5 separate regions of the Homo sapiens genome follow, and all the other regions are linked to region 1. The links are contacts of gene promoters, found by promoter capture Hi-C in blood cells and fetal thymus (Javierre and others, 2016). All regions are on one chromosome and are shown on one strand. The core of a region is centred on a gene start or on the middle of the fragment in contact, and the rest is flanking DNA. Distances in the headings are between cores, read along the strand shown. Region 1 holds the start of CHUK (component of inhibitor of nuclear factor kappa B kinase complex). Region 2 has its middle 69 kb from the start of DNMBP-AS1. Region 3 overlaps CUTC (cutC copper transporter). Region 4 overlaps HIF1AN (hypoxia inducible factor 1 subunit alpha inhibitor). Region 5 overlaps ABCC2 (ATP binding cassette subfamily C member 2).

What was found. Contacts are between HindIII fragments. The CHiCAGO score rates a contact against its expected background, and 5 or more counts as called.
Region 2: a fragment that was not itself captured here is called in contact with the fragment with the promoter of CHUK in region 1 in 1 of 17 cell types (endothelial precursors); the score reaches 5.8 in endothelial precursors.
Region 3: a contact is called between a fragment that was not itself captured here and the fragment with the promoter of CHUK in region 1, in 1 of 17 cell types (endothelial precursors). The highest score is 5.1, in endothelial precursors.
Region 4: a contact is called between a fragment that was not itself captured here and the fragment with the promoter of CHUK in region 1, in 1 of 17 cell types (fetal thymus). The highest score is 5.9, in fetal thymus.
Region 5: a fragment that was not itself captured here is called in contact with the fragment with the promoter of CHUK in region 1 in 1 of 17 cell types (endothelial precursors); the score reaches 6.1 in endothelial precursors.

Annotation. Positions count from the first base shown.
Region 1 is chr10:100,228,126-100,230,858 of GRCh38, forward strand. It overlaps CHUK (component of inhibitor of nuclear factor kappa B kinase complex), which reads right to left and starts at 1,471. Exons shown (of 21, transcript NM_001278.5): 1 at 1,303-1,471. The coding sequence starts at 1,407. It overlaps CHUK-DT (CHUK divergent transcript), which reads left to right and starts at 1,535. Exons shown (of 4, transcript NR_186419.1): 1 at 1,535-1,599. RefSeq lists silencers at 1,209-1,448, 2,518-2,733 and an enhancer at 1,559-1,608. The HindIII fragment of the contact is 6,397 bases long and covers 1-2,453 here.
Region 2 is chr10:99,856,606-99,859,305 of GRCh38, forward strand. No RefSeq gene overlaps it. Among named protein-coding and RNA genes, the nearest start is that of DNMBP-AS1, 69 kb to the right of the region's middle. The HindIII fragment of the contact is 2,513 bases long and covers 168-2,680 here.
Region 3 is chr10:99,739,057-99,741,925 of GRCh38, forward strand. CUTC (cutC copper transporter) reads left to right here. Exons shown (of 9, transcript NM_015960.3): 3 at 654-713. Among named protein-coding and RNA genes, the nearest start is that of CUTC, 8.3 kb to the left of the region's middle. The HindIII fragment of the contact is 2,671 bases long and covers 271-2,869 here.
Region 4 is chr10:100,539,461-100,542,160 of GRCh38, forward strand. HIF1AN (hypoxia inducible factor 1 subunit alpha inhibitor) reads left to right here. Exons shown (of 8, transcript NM_017902.3): 3 at 1,174-1,322. Among named protein-coding and RNA genes, the nearest start is that of HIF1AN, 4.9 kb to the left of the region's middle. The HindIII fragment of the contact is 8,099 bases long and covers 1-2,700 here.
Region 5 is chr10:99,833,022-99,835,721 of GRCh38, forward strand. It overlaps ABCC2 (ATP binding cassette subfamily C member 2), which reads left to right. Exons shown (of 32, transcript NM_000392.5): 24 at 1,359-1,514. Among named protein-coding and RNA genes, the nearest start is that of ABCC2, 52 kb to the left of the region's middle. RefSeq lists an enhancer at 946-2,145. The HindIII fragment of the contact is 943 bases long and covers 823-1,765 here.

The DNA of each region.
Region 1 (2,733 bases), core at 221-2,720:
TTACTATTTTATTTAACTCTCAAATCCATGATGCATGTAATTATTATACTATACTTACTTTACAGGCAACAAAACAAAGCCTATATTACAGGAATTATTAGTCCAGGGTCTATTTACCTAAAATGTCCTTTAGGAAGGCACGAACCTCTCAAATGGCAATGCATGGTTGTGTGAATGTGCATCTGTGCATTTTTCTGGGGAAAGGGTTCACAGCTTTTATCGGTATATCAAAAAATACATGTCCCAGGCCTGGTGCCGTGGCTCACGCCTATAATCTCTGCACTTTGGGAGCCTGAGACAGGTGGATCGCCTGAGGTCAGGAGTTCGAGACCAGCCTGGCCAACATGGTGAAACCCCGTCTCTACTAAAAATACAAAAAAATTAGCCAGGCACGGTGGCGGGCGCCTGTAATCCCAGCTACTCAGGAGGCTGTGGCAGGAGAATCGCTTGAACTCGGGAGGAGGAGGCTGCAGTGAGCCGAGATCGCGCCCTGCATTCCAGCCTGGGCGACAGAGTGAGACTCCGTCTCAAAAACAAAAACAAACAAACAAGACCCAAATATGATTTTTTAACTGCTACTACAATGGTTAAACATTCTCTATTAAATCAAAGTAAAATTCTTGAGTCTGATGTTAACTGTCCTCCACCTACTAGAGCGCCCCCCATCTCCATCTACTAATATAGCCTTTCGTTTGAAGCCATGCTCTGCACCAACTCACCCTCATACTGTCCCGACCTGGAATACATCCCCAATTCCAAAGCCCATCCATGCTTCCAAAGGCTTAACTCTGGACCCATCATGAAGCCTTCCTTGTCTACTCCAGTCCCCACTGATATCATATGGCCTCCAAGCGCGCGCGCGCGCGCGCACACACACACACACACACACACACACACACACGGACGCACACATTCCCAAAGGCAGTCCCCTTCAGCCCTCTTCTCACACATTCGTGCTCCTACATACACACTGTGACGTGCATCTGCCTCACACACCCTGACACTCCACATTCACAGAGACACACACGCACTGTCACACTCACTAAACACCTGGTCACAGCCTGACAGTCATACCCAAGTTCCCCGCAACAGCTCTATCTATGCCCAGTACCTCAAATACAACTTTGGACACACAGGCATAGTATCTTTCTCTCTAATACACACACACAAGCCCACTGGCCCCCAAATACTGCCCAAGGTCCCACCAACCATCTATCCCACACTGTCAGCCCTGTGTTCCACAGACGCTCAAACCCACCGCCGCTCCAACCCACCGCCGCTCCCTCTCACGCCCCGCCTCACCCGATGCTGGTACAGACAGACGTTCCCGAAGCCGCCGGTGCCCAGCCGCTCCCGCATCTCCCAGGGCCCGCCCGCGCCCGGCCGCAGCCCCGGGGGCCGCTCCATGGGGCGGGAGGGCAAGCGGCCTCAGGTTCCACAGTTGTTCCAAGGCCGGTTCCGGGCCGCCGATGCTCGCGCGTCTTTGTTCTCGCGAGAATGAATGCGTCACTTCCGGTAACCGCTGCGAGAAGGCCCTTCCCTAAGTTCTCCCAGGGCGCTGCCAGAGCCCTGCCGGCTAAGGGATGGGGAAACAAACAGGTACTCGGTCCGCTCTTTAAGTCCCCTACGTATTTTCCGGGAGGGCTGAACGGAACCACAATGTTTTTCTAGTCTTGGAAAACATAAGATCTCTCCAAACCCCACATTCCCGTCAAATCCACTTTTCAAAGCAGCCCAGTCTCTCCTGTATTTTTTTCTTTTTAATTAAGATGGGGTCTCGCTCCGTTGCCCAGGCTGGAGTGCAATGGCACGATCACGGCTCACTGCAGCCTCGACCTCCCGGAATTAAGCGATCTTCTCACCTCCCGAGTAGCTGGGATTGCAGGCGCGCACCACCTCGCTTGGCTAATTTTTTATTTTTTGTAGAGACATGGTCTTGCTACGTTGCCCAGGCTGGTCCCGAACTCCTGGTCTCAAGTAGTCCTCCCACCTTGGCATCCCAGAGTGCTGGGATTATAGACATGAGCCACCGCGTCCAGCAATTAGTCTTTTCTAAACTTCATATTGTCTCTACTCCTATCTACACTTCACCTTTCTTCAGATCCCTGCCATCTATCCTCCAACTCCACCACCAGCTGATCCGGCACGCTAAAGACCACCAATGATTTAAAGGCTGCGAAATCGTTAAAATACTACGCTAGCAGGCCCACTAATGAATTAGCCTTCTTGTTCACTGACTTCCCAATACACCTGCTCCAGGATATCCCCTGTCATCCCAAATGACTCAAGAATGTGACGCTATTCCGGAGTGAAGAGTGTTTCTCGGGATTTCGCGAGCTTTTTTCCTAGATGCCTCACAGAGCTTGCTGTCCGGCAGTCCAGTTATGGGTTTGCCAGCACAGTAGTTCATTGTGAGAAGTGTTTCTAATGGGTGCTACAGGGCTGCAGAGGCAAGCTTTGGGAATGCTGTTGGTGCAGCAAGTGCTTCCGGGTGGCGGATTGCCATAGCATAGGGGAAACAACTCCTGGTCTTCCATTTAAGAGGGTCATACCTTCACTGTACCTGGGGGATCTCAATACTCCAAGTAAAGGAATCAGCATGGAATCAAATTATTGATAAATGTGATGCTGCAACCAGAATGTTGAGCACTGCATGATACAGACGAAGTCGATGTTGTAGGTCATTAGTAACATGTGGTATGGGAGGTTCTGGTTTCTGTAAGTGCATGGTTT
Region 2 (2,700 bases), core at 174-2,673, 370 kb before region 1:
TGTCTTGGGCCACATATAAAATACACTAACACTAATGATAGCTGATAAGCTAAAAAAAAAAAAATCGCAAAAAAAATCTGATTATGTTTTAAGAAAGTTTACAAATTTGTGGTGGGCCACATTGAAAGCCATGGGCCACATGCGGCCCACAGGCCATGGGCTGGACAAGCTTGCTATAGACACTCGTTCTTCTCTGGGAAACAACTTGGTTGTCAGAAGATTGTGGATAGCACTGGTTGTACTATTAGCTCTGGTCACAGGTATTGCTCTTGATACCTGGTGCTAAACAATAGCTTTGCCTGGCTGCTTCTTTTTTAGTGCTCATCTGCGGACACCTGTGGTCTGGTTTGTCAGGGTTTGCATTCTGGTAATATAAAGGTAGCTTCTGGTATAATAAATATTTGCCTGGTTGACACAATTATTAGGTCCAATCTGTAAACCAATTACTCTTTGGCCAGCTTTTCATTGTCCTTAATCCAACAGTCTAATTTCTCTGCAAACTTGACTCCAATGTTAATGGTTGAACAGAATTCTTTTATTTTAGTTGGACCTAGAGTAGGGGTATGGCTCTAGGGCCAAATTTGCCCTGCTACCTGTTTTTGCACATAAAGTTTTACTGGAACACATCCATGCTCCTTTGTTTCTTTGCCATCTGTGCCTGCTTTCATGTTACAATACAGAGTTGAGGAATTGGCCCACAAAGCCTAAAATATTTACTATCTGGCCCTTTAAGAACAGGTTTGCTGACCACTGCTCTAGAGCCACCAATGTAGCCTGGACTGGGTCACGATTCCATGCTCAAAAAGACTATTTGCTGGCCGGGCGCGGTGGCTGACGCCTGTAATCCCAGCACTTTGGGAGGCTGAGGTGGGCGGATCACCTGAGGTCAGGAGTTCAAGATCAGCCTGACCAACATGGAGAAACCCCGCCTCTACTAAAAATACAAAAAATTAGTCGGGCATGGTGGTGCATGCCTGTAACTCCAGCTACTCGGGAGGCTGAGGCAGGAGAATCACTTGAACCCGGGAGGCGGAGGTTGCCGTGAGCTGAGATTGTGCCATTGCGCTCCAGCCTGGGCAACAAGAGCAAAATCTGTCTCAAAAAAAAAACAAAACAAAACTATTTGCCTTTAAAATGTCATGTGGCTTCACACCTGTGATAGAATAATGGTCCTCAAAAATGTCCACATCCTAATCCTCAAAGCCTGTGAATATGCCACCTTCCCTGGAAAAAAGGACTTTCACTGATGTGATTAAGTTAAGGGTCTTCAGATGGGGAGAGCACCGTGGATTGGCCAGGTGGGCTCAATGTAAACACAGCGTTCTTATAAAAGAGGCAGGACAGTCGGAGTGAGAGCGTGCTGCGATGACGGACGGAGTGAGACAGTTGAAGGTGCCACGCTGCTGGCTTTGAAGATGGAGGGAGTGGCCGCAAGCCAGGATATGCAGACCTTAGGAATCGGAAAAGGTAAGGAAATGAATTCTCCCCTGGAGCATCCATGAGGAACCAGCCCTGCCAACACCTTGACTTTAGCCCGGTGAGACTAATTTTGAATTCTGACCTCCAGAATGCTGAGATAAATTTGTTTTCAGCCACTAAATTTGTGGTAACTTGTTCCAGCAATAGGAAACTAATAAAAGTAAGCCCAGGTAGCTGTGATAAAACTGCCACAGTTCTTCAGCTAAAGTCAGTTTAATGACAATTCATGGATCTTCTTCATTAAATCCCACTGTAGTTTGAGTATGTAGAGGGTCATGCTGCCTTTTAAGCCCAGCTAAAAGTTGGTTGCAATACTCGTGCCTGGCATCCCTTCTATCAAATTGCAAAAATCTTATTCAGTTTGAACAGAGTTGCGGGTATTTTCTTGGTCTCAACTGAAGGCTGTAGTGAGGGCTCTTGTCAAAGTGAGTCCTGTTTTTGACGACAGCAGATTGAGAATTTCTCACCCTCAGCTTTCCTAATTCTGGACCTCTGGGGTGGTTGCTGTGAGAAATGCTTGGTGAGATGCCGAGGTGTGGTGGTTCACAGGCATTGCTGTGTGCCGTGGTCCTGCTCCGTCTAAGGACCTGTCAGGGTGGCTGCAGGGTCTCACCCACCTGACTGCTCCCCAGAAATGTTTCCAGAATGAATACATTGCCGAGACTCTAACCAGAGGCTTGCTCCCTTCCACCACCACCCCACAGCCTATCGCTGGGAAGGCACTAATTCTGCCCCTCTCTGCTTGAGGGTCATCTCTTGAGTGTTAAGGCGTAGGTATCCCTATGTAGCTTGCAAAATCTGCAACTTGTGGAAAACTCCTTTCTTGACATATGTAAAATACTAATGCTGACCTGCACCAACAATTGCAGCAAAGTTCTAGCAGAGGCTGTGGGACATAAGCCAGGGGCTCAGACAGATCGGAGTCCACTGCCCCTGCTCTGAAGCACTGGGTGATCTGCTACACATGGCAAAGGTAAAACCGTGAAGACTTCAGCAGTATCATGTACCACCAGGCGGGAGAGTTTAATGCCCCGTGAGTTATGTGGCGACCAGAGAGGGGATTTAGCATGAAGTATTTAAAGCTGGAGGTTTCTCGGTCCTCAAGCATAAGGTTCTGCAAATGAAACACAGTTCAGAGCACAACTGTTAAGGCCCGTTTGTACTCCTGACCCTGAACTAACACCCTCATCAACAGAATCCAAGCTTCACAATTAACTAAAA
Region 3 (2,869 bases), core at 356-2,855, 490 kb before region 1:
AATAATGAATTTGTTCTCTGTCTTCCCTTGAATTGTTTTGTCATTATGAATGTAGATTTAGATATATTTTGTGTGTTTTAATCCATTGTAGTTATTCTGCTTATTGATGAACAAAATGTTCTATCTTTGGCTAGTGAGAGCTTCTTCAAACTGGTTCCTGAGATCTTTTGATGTGACCTTGGTAGCCTAATAATTCTTTTGGTTTCAGCATTTTCTTATTCTTGAAATTATCTTGGTTTAGCTACTCAAAAGTAGCTTTGTGTTTTTTAAAGCTTAGAATAATAAAGACCCTTTTGGGAAATATTATGTTATTTTCTTATCAACAAAGACTCAGTATTCCACTATAGTCAGTTTTAAGAAACATCTTTATTCTATGTTACTTTCCTGTACATAGAGAGGCAACCCTATAATACAAAAATTTAAGAGAACTAGCTTAACTTTAATTAATTTTTAAATTTGAGTATGAGTAACACAATGTGGGCTGCAGAGTATAGCTGAGTTAAAAACAGAGTTTTACTCTAGCTTTATAATTTGATTTCTCTGAGATGATTTCTAAGACTGTTCTATATTTGGAAAAAATATATATAAACAGGTTGCTGTTTAATAACAGCTTATTTTTTAAAAATGTGTTGAGCAATGCTTTTATATTACAGGTGCTGATCGGATTGAATTATGTTCTGGTTTATCAGAGGGGGGAACTACACCCAGCATGGGTAAGTGTCCATTTTTCCCAGGTTTTCTGATTGGAGTTCATAGAGCCTGGAAGCAACTGATAATCAGTTTCGTTGGGGTCCTTTACTAATGTCATGTTAACTATGTTATGGATGTTGTATCAGAAATGTTTATGATTGTAAAAAAATCAAAGATTTGATCAAACATATTTCTTTCTCACATCAAAAAGTTGAAAGGTAGGTAGGTAATTGTTAATACCGGTTCAGCTGCTCTGTAGTAACATCAAGGATTAGGCTTTTATAAAATCTTTCCATGCTGGCATCCTTAGTATATTGAAATCCCCTCCTGGTCTTTGTGCTATTGTTGTCATATATTTTACTCATACATATATCAAAAACTCCATGCTGTATTGTTAGTTTTGTTTGAAGAGTCAATTATCTTTTGTTAAATAAGAGATTTAAATAATAAGAAAAAAATCATATATTTACCCACATGCAACTACCATTTCTGGTGTTCTTTATTCCTTTGTGTAGATCCCGTATTTCTGTCTGGTTTCATTTTCATTCTGCCTGAAGTACTTTCTTTAACTTTTTTTGTTAAAAAGTATGCTAGTGATTCATTCCTTCAGCTTTTATATGTCTAAAATAGCTTTTTCCTTCATTTTTGAAAGGTATTTTTGCTGGGTATAGAATTCTAGGTTGACAGGTTTTTTTTTTCTTTGAAGATGTTTTTCCATTGTCGTCTTGCTTGTATTGTTTCTGACAAAAAGCTATCATCCATATCTTTGTTTTTCTCTATGTAATATGTCTCTTTTTTCTACCTACTTTTAAGATTTTTTTATTATTGGTTTTGAACAATTTTCTTATGGTGTACCTGAGTATAGTTTTTTCATGTTTCTTGGACCTGTGCATTTATACTTCTCATCACATTTGGAAAATTTTCAGCTTGCAGCTTGTTCTCCACTCCCTCCTTTAGAGACTTAAGCTATTCTTACATTAGACTACTTGAAATTGTCCCAAAAGTCACTGATGAACTTCTCTATTTAAAAGAAAATCTCCTTTCTGTGTTTTCATTTTGCATAGTTGCTATTGTTTTGTCCTTGAGCTTACTGACCTTTTCTTCTGCACTATCTAATCTGCTATTAGTCTCTCCTGGTATGTTTTCATCTCATACATTGTAGTCTTCATCTGTAGAAATTTGAGTCTTTTTATGTCTCTGATGTCTCTTAACTTTTTTGAACATGTGGAATAAAGTTATGATAGCTGTTATAATGACCTTGTCTGCGAATTCTAACATCTATATCAGTTCTGGGTTTGTTTCATTTGATTTATCATCTAATAATATATCTTATTTTCCTGCCTTGTAATTTTTTATTGGATGCAAGACATTGTGAATTTTACTTTATTGGTTACTAGACATTTTTGAATTCCTACAAATGTTCCAAAACAGTTTGGTCCTTTTGGGTCTTGCTTTTAAGATTTGCTGGGCAAGTCTGGAGCAGTGGTTAATACAGAGCTAATTATTCCTTACTACTGAGTCAGGATTCTTCTGTGAACTCTACCCTGTGACCATGAATTTTGAAATTTTCCTGTCTGGCTGGTGGAATAGGCATTATTCACAGCTTGGTATGAATGACAGGCACATTATTTCTAATCCTTTTTATTGGTTCTGTCCCAGGCCTTGCGTAGTTTCTTTGCATGCATGCACCGGTCAGTACTCAGCTGAATATTAAAGGAGGTTCTCTGCAGACCTCCAGAGTTATCTGTCTTCCTTTCTTCTTTCATTCCTTCCTTTCCTTTCTTTTCTTTCCTTCTCCTTTTCTCTCTCTTTGCTTTCCTTCCTTCCTTTTTTTCTTTTGACAGGGTCTCACCTGTTGTCCAGGCTTGACTGAAGTGGTGTGACCATAGCTCCCTACAGCCTCAAACTCCTGGGCTCAAGCAATTGTCCTGCCTCAGCCTCTCAAGTAGCTAGGATTACAGGCATATGCCACCATGTCCAGCTACATTTGTTTGTTTGTTTGTTTGGTAGAGATGGAGTCTCACCATTTTACCCAGACTGGTCTTGAACTCCTTGCCTCAGGCAATCCACCCATCTCAGCCTCCCAAAGCACTGGGATTACAGGCATGAGCCACCGTACCAAGCCTATCTTTTTTAAAAAAAATCCTTTTTTTAAACCATTGAGATAGTCTTTGCTACT
Region 4 (2,700 bases), core at 13-2,512, 310 kb after region 1:
TGGCTGAATCAGTTAAGATAAACTAGGCTTCAAGCCAGAGCTCGGGCTAGAAACAACAGAGGCTTATTTCTCACTTACTACATGTTGATCATGGGTAATGTCATATTGTTCTTTACATCATCTTACTTGCTCTGGCACCCAGATTGCCCCAGCAGCTACTATCTAGAACTTTGGAGTTGCTGTGGCAGAAGGAAAGAGATGTGGTAGTGGTAACTTGTTCTTAAATTACAGTTGGAAACAACACAAGTCGCTTCTGTGGACATTTCCTTGGCCAGAGCAGCGTAAATAAGCAAGCCTGGCTTCAAGGGGATGTGAAAGAAAACTCGCACACTGAGGGAACCAGCTCTTGGTGAACAGTAATACAATTTACCACAGTGGTCATCAAGGGCCAACGGAGATGTCTCAGGCTCTGCGAGTCTCTGGAGTGAGACTGATTCATCATTCTAGGGTCTGTGGATAGGCTTCTAGGAGTCTGAAATTGTGTGAAAGTTCTGGGTGTATGTGCATTTTTATGGGGAACCTCCGTGGATTCTTTTATTTATTTATTTATGTATTTATATTTTTTGAGATGGTGTCTTGCTCTTGTCACCCAGGCTGGAGTGCAATGGCACGATCTCAGCTCACTGCAACCTCTGCCTCCCAGGTTCAAGTGATTCTCCTGCCTCAGCCTCCTGAGTAGCTGGGACTTCTTCTCCAGGTTCTTTTTTTTTTTTTTAATTTTATTTTTCATCTCACCCTCCTACTCTTTGGATTCTTAAAGGAGTCATTCTGTGACCCAAAAAAGGTTAAGCATCACTTCTTTAAAGAAAAAGTTTGGGGGCCAGATGCAGTGTCTCACACCTGTAATCCCAGCACTTTGGGAGGCAGAAGCAGGAGGATTGCTTGAGCCCAAGAGTTTAAGACCAACCTGGACAACATATTGAGACCTTGTTTCTTTAAACAAAACAAAGAAAAACCAGTAAATTAAAAAATTTGGTGTTGAACATAACTCAATGAAGGATAAGTAAGAATTCAGTTGTATGAGAATCCATGTTGGCTAAAATTTGCCTGACTACATCTGTTCTCTGTGGGAGATGCTGGTATGGATTTGGGCTTGGATTTTCAGATGTGGAGAGGCCATGCCAGGGGCTGTGTGTGCATGCACTAATAGGATTTTCTTCTTGGGGAACATAGGTTGTATCTGCAGCAAACGCTCAATGACACTGTGGGCAGGAAGATTGTCATGGACTTCTTAGGTTTTAACTGGAACTGGATTAATAAGCAACAGGGAAAGCGTGGCTGGGGGCAGCTTACCTCTAACCTGCTGCTCATTGGCATGGAAGGTAAGAAATCTTTCAAAAGCAGCATGGCTTGGAGTCATATGAACCTGATTTCTAATCCTGTCTTCACCGCTTATTAGCTCCATGACTTTGAACAAGCCACTTCACTTTCTTAAGCCTCAGCCTACTCAGCTCTAAAAGAAACATAATAGGGGCTGGATGCCGTGGCTCACGCCTGTAATCCCAGCAGTTTGGGAGGCCAAGGTGGGTGGATGATGAGGTCAGGAGATGGAGACCATCCCGGCCAACATCATGAAACCCCGTCTCTACTAAAATACAAAGAAAACAAATCAGCTGGGCATGGTGGTGCGTGCCTGTAGTCCCAGCTACTCGGGAGGCTGAGAGAGGGGAATTGCTTGAACCCAGGCGGTGGAGGTTGCAGTGAGCCAAGATCACGCCACTGCACTCCAGCCTGGCGACAGAGCAAGACTCTGTCTCAAAAGAAAGAAAAAGAAACATAATAGGGCCAGGCATGGTAGCTCATATTTGTAATCCCAGCACTTTGGGAGGCCAAGGCAGGAGGATTGCTTGAAGCCAGAAGTTTGAGGCTACAGTGAACTATGATTGCACCACTGCACTGCAGCCTGGGCAACAGAGTGAGATCCTATTGCTTAAAAAAGGAAAAATGAAAAGAAATGAAACATGATAATGTCTTGTAAATAGTTGTGAAGTTGTGAAGATTAAATGAAATAATGTATGTCGAGTCTGTTTTTTTTTGTTGTTGTTGTTTTGTTTTTTTGAGACAGAGTCTCACTCTGTTGCCTAGGCTGGAGTGCAGTTGTGTGGTCTCGGCTCACTGCAACCTCCGCCTCCCGTGTTCAAGTGATTCTCCTGCTTTAGCTCCCAAGTAGCTGACACTACAGGCGTGTGCCACCATACCCGGCTTATGTCGAGTCTTTAAGCTAGTTTCGTGTATTCTAAAAAGTTCCCTTTTCCCTTCCTCAGCTGTTATGTGAGTGTGTATACTGAGATATTAGGGACCTCTCTGAAATACAGACATGTGATGCTTAATGTCAGGGATACGTTCTGAGAAATGTGTTGTTAGGTGACTTCATCATTGTGCAAACACCATAGAGTATAGTTACACAAACCTAGATTGTGTAGCCTTCTATATGCCTAGGCTATATGGTGTAGCCTCTGACTAAACCATGTACTACATGGTGTTAGCATATTACTGTGCTGAATATTATAGTCAATTCTAACACAATGGTAAGTATTTGTGTATCTAAACATACCTAAATATAGAAAAGGTATAGTAAAAGTACGGTATCAGATACTGCAGGAAAAAGGTGACAAAAGAAAAAAGTATATAAAGGTTAAAAAATGGTAGTTTGGGAATTTTTTTATTGCCAAAAAAAAAAAAGATAAAAAACGGTATACC
Region 5 (2,700 bases), core at 44-2,543, 400 kb before region 1:
TTTAGCCCTGTGCTTATGGAGCAGCTCTGGACTCTTGTTTGTTGGTCTTGGGGCAGACATAGAAAGTATAGCTCACAGTCCACAGCCAGGTTCTGGGGACACAGTAACTGCTTCAAAAGTGGGCCATTAACTGGTCCCCCTGTGTCATCTTCCTCTGGGGCAGAAACAGTGGGCATGATGTCACTAGAGACAACTTCAATGGCCTTTCTGCTCTTTACTAGAACCTAAAAGAACACTCAATTTTGGGTGAGAAATTTCTCATAGTAATTTTGTAAAGATCACAGTTTTCCCCATGTTGTAATATATATAATCTTCTGGGAAAGAGAACACAGAGGTTTTCTGTGAGTTACTTAGGCAACAGTCATAGTTTGAAGACTGCTTTTGCATGAGAAAGGAAACTGTCATTAATTATATAGTATGTTTCGTTGGGGAGGTGGCTCAGACCTATTAAGGGGAGTTTGATCAAGGGGCCTCTGGGATCAATGGCTGAGTTAAGAGGAGATGGAGTGGAGGAAGGAAAGATGGAGACTCTGTGCCAGGTAAGGATCAAAAGTAATCTGCATAGAACTGATAACTGGTAGGGATTTCTTTTCTCTGCCAACTGTGGGTATAGTTATTTGCATTCTGATAGGACTTTGGGAAAGGTAGGTTAGACTCAGGAGTCATCCATGATTCAGAGCTTTCCTGGAAGACCATTATCCCTGATACAGTTTGAGAAATTCCAGAGATAACTTAAACTCACTTTGGTACTCACATATTACCAATCATAGAATCAATATAATCCCCACAAATTTAGGCAAGGGCAACCCAAAATATAAACCAAGCTTCTTGAGTGTTCTCCAAACCATCCATCCATTCATTCATTTTTCTTATTTGTTCATTTATTTCACATGACACGAAGGCAACATGGCAGTAAGACACATCTGTTCCCGCTGGGTTCCTTGGTTAGAACACTGTCCAGGCAGGCTCACATTCAACCCCAGCTCCCTTCCCCTTGGTCCTCTATGCTTAGCAGAGGAAGCAACTTCCTGAGTATTTTTAGTAGAGATGGGATTTCACCATGTTGGTCAGGCTGGTCTTGAACTCCCGATCTCAGGTGATCCACCCGCCTCGGCCTTGCAAAGTGCTGGGATTACAGGTGTGACCACCACGCCAGGCCTAAATGAAGAAATTATGGAAATGAAATTGGTTATTGGGGCAAGCAATGCAGCCTATTGCAAATGAACACAATGAAATGATTACATGAAGGAGTACTGGGAACACACAGAATCCAACAGATTCCTTGCTAGAACTAGGAAGATGTAAACTATCTTAGGAAGACCTCAGTGATGGTGTATCTCTCCTAATCGTTTTCCTAGGATATTTCCACAGTGGATGACACCCTGCCTCAGTCCTTGCGCAGCTGGATTACATGCTTCCTGGGGATAATCAGCACCCTTGTCATGATCTGCATGGCCACTCCTGTCTTCACCATCATCGTCATTCCTCTTGGCATTATTTATGTATCTGTTCAGGTAGGTTTGGAAATGGCTAAGTCATCCTTCCTTCCTCTCTATCTATAAAAGCCCAGCCTCTTTCCTGAGAATCTTCTCTCTGATTCATTGCTAGTCACTCACTCCTCCCCTCAGCAGCTTTGCCATTTAGTCATATGTTGACATACCCAGGAGCCCACAGGCCACTGTCTGAAGCTGAAGTGAGAGCATCAATGGGTGCACCATTTATGGCAAATGTCACCCTAACTGCTGCCCACCCTTCACTCCCTGGAAGCTTAGGTCGGACAGATTTACGTTTGGATCCAAGACTACTTTGAGATTGGCTCTGGACACAGTCTTGCAGCTCCATAAGAACCCCCATGACGATTAGGTCGGTTCCAGAAGAGCCATGCTATGGTGCTTCCTTGGTTGACTTTGGACAGGCATAGCTGCTTGGAGATGTCTCTCAGCAGCAGCTGGGTCTTTCTTTTTACTTCGGCAAAGTTCTAGTTTCACTGGGGTGTCTGTGGGTGGTTTAGGCTCAATTCCAGTGTATTCTTCGAGGGAATGTGCAGCTTGAAAGCAAAACAGGGAAACTGGAACGAGTGGAAGGAACCCTATTCCCACAATAAAATGGATGAGGGAAGGGGAGGCTGTGGAGGAACTCTGGTCCCACCAGCTGCTTTTGTGGTGAATTGTTTGCCTGGGGAAACAATTCTGAAGACACTGATCAGGGGCTCGTGGCCTTGTGGCCTGCGATTGGCGGCTCGCCCCCATGTCCGTGTACAGTTCCTCAGGCACATTGTCACCATAGCGGCCTTTTAACTATTAATAACAAGCCAACAAACAAGAAGCAGGGTTATTGGAGGGAACATCTGTATGTCCATGTATAACATTTTGCATCCCGTCTCTCCAACGCCCCACTCTTCCCAGGTTTCAACAAATCCTCACAGAATCTAGTAGCAGCACGGACCCATTCCACTCCCCCTTGCCCTCAGGCCACAGGGTTCTTCCCTGCATTGGATTCTACCCTGTTCCAGTTCTTACCCCCTCAGCACTCTGCATACCTCCAGAATTCTCTGTACCTTCACACACCACCGAGGCACAGTTTTGGTCACTTAATTGAACAGATTCTTCCCTTTTTACCCAAACCTAGGCATGCCTTTTTCTGGCCATTTCCTGCCCATCCCCACTTTACACACCCCACGGGCCCCACTGCCTTTACAAA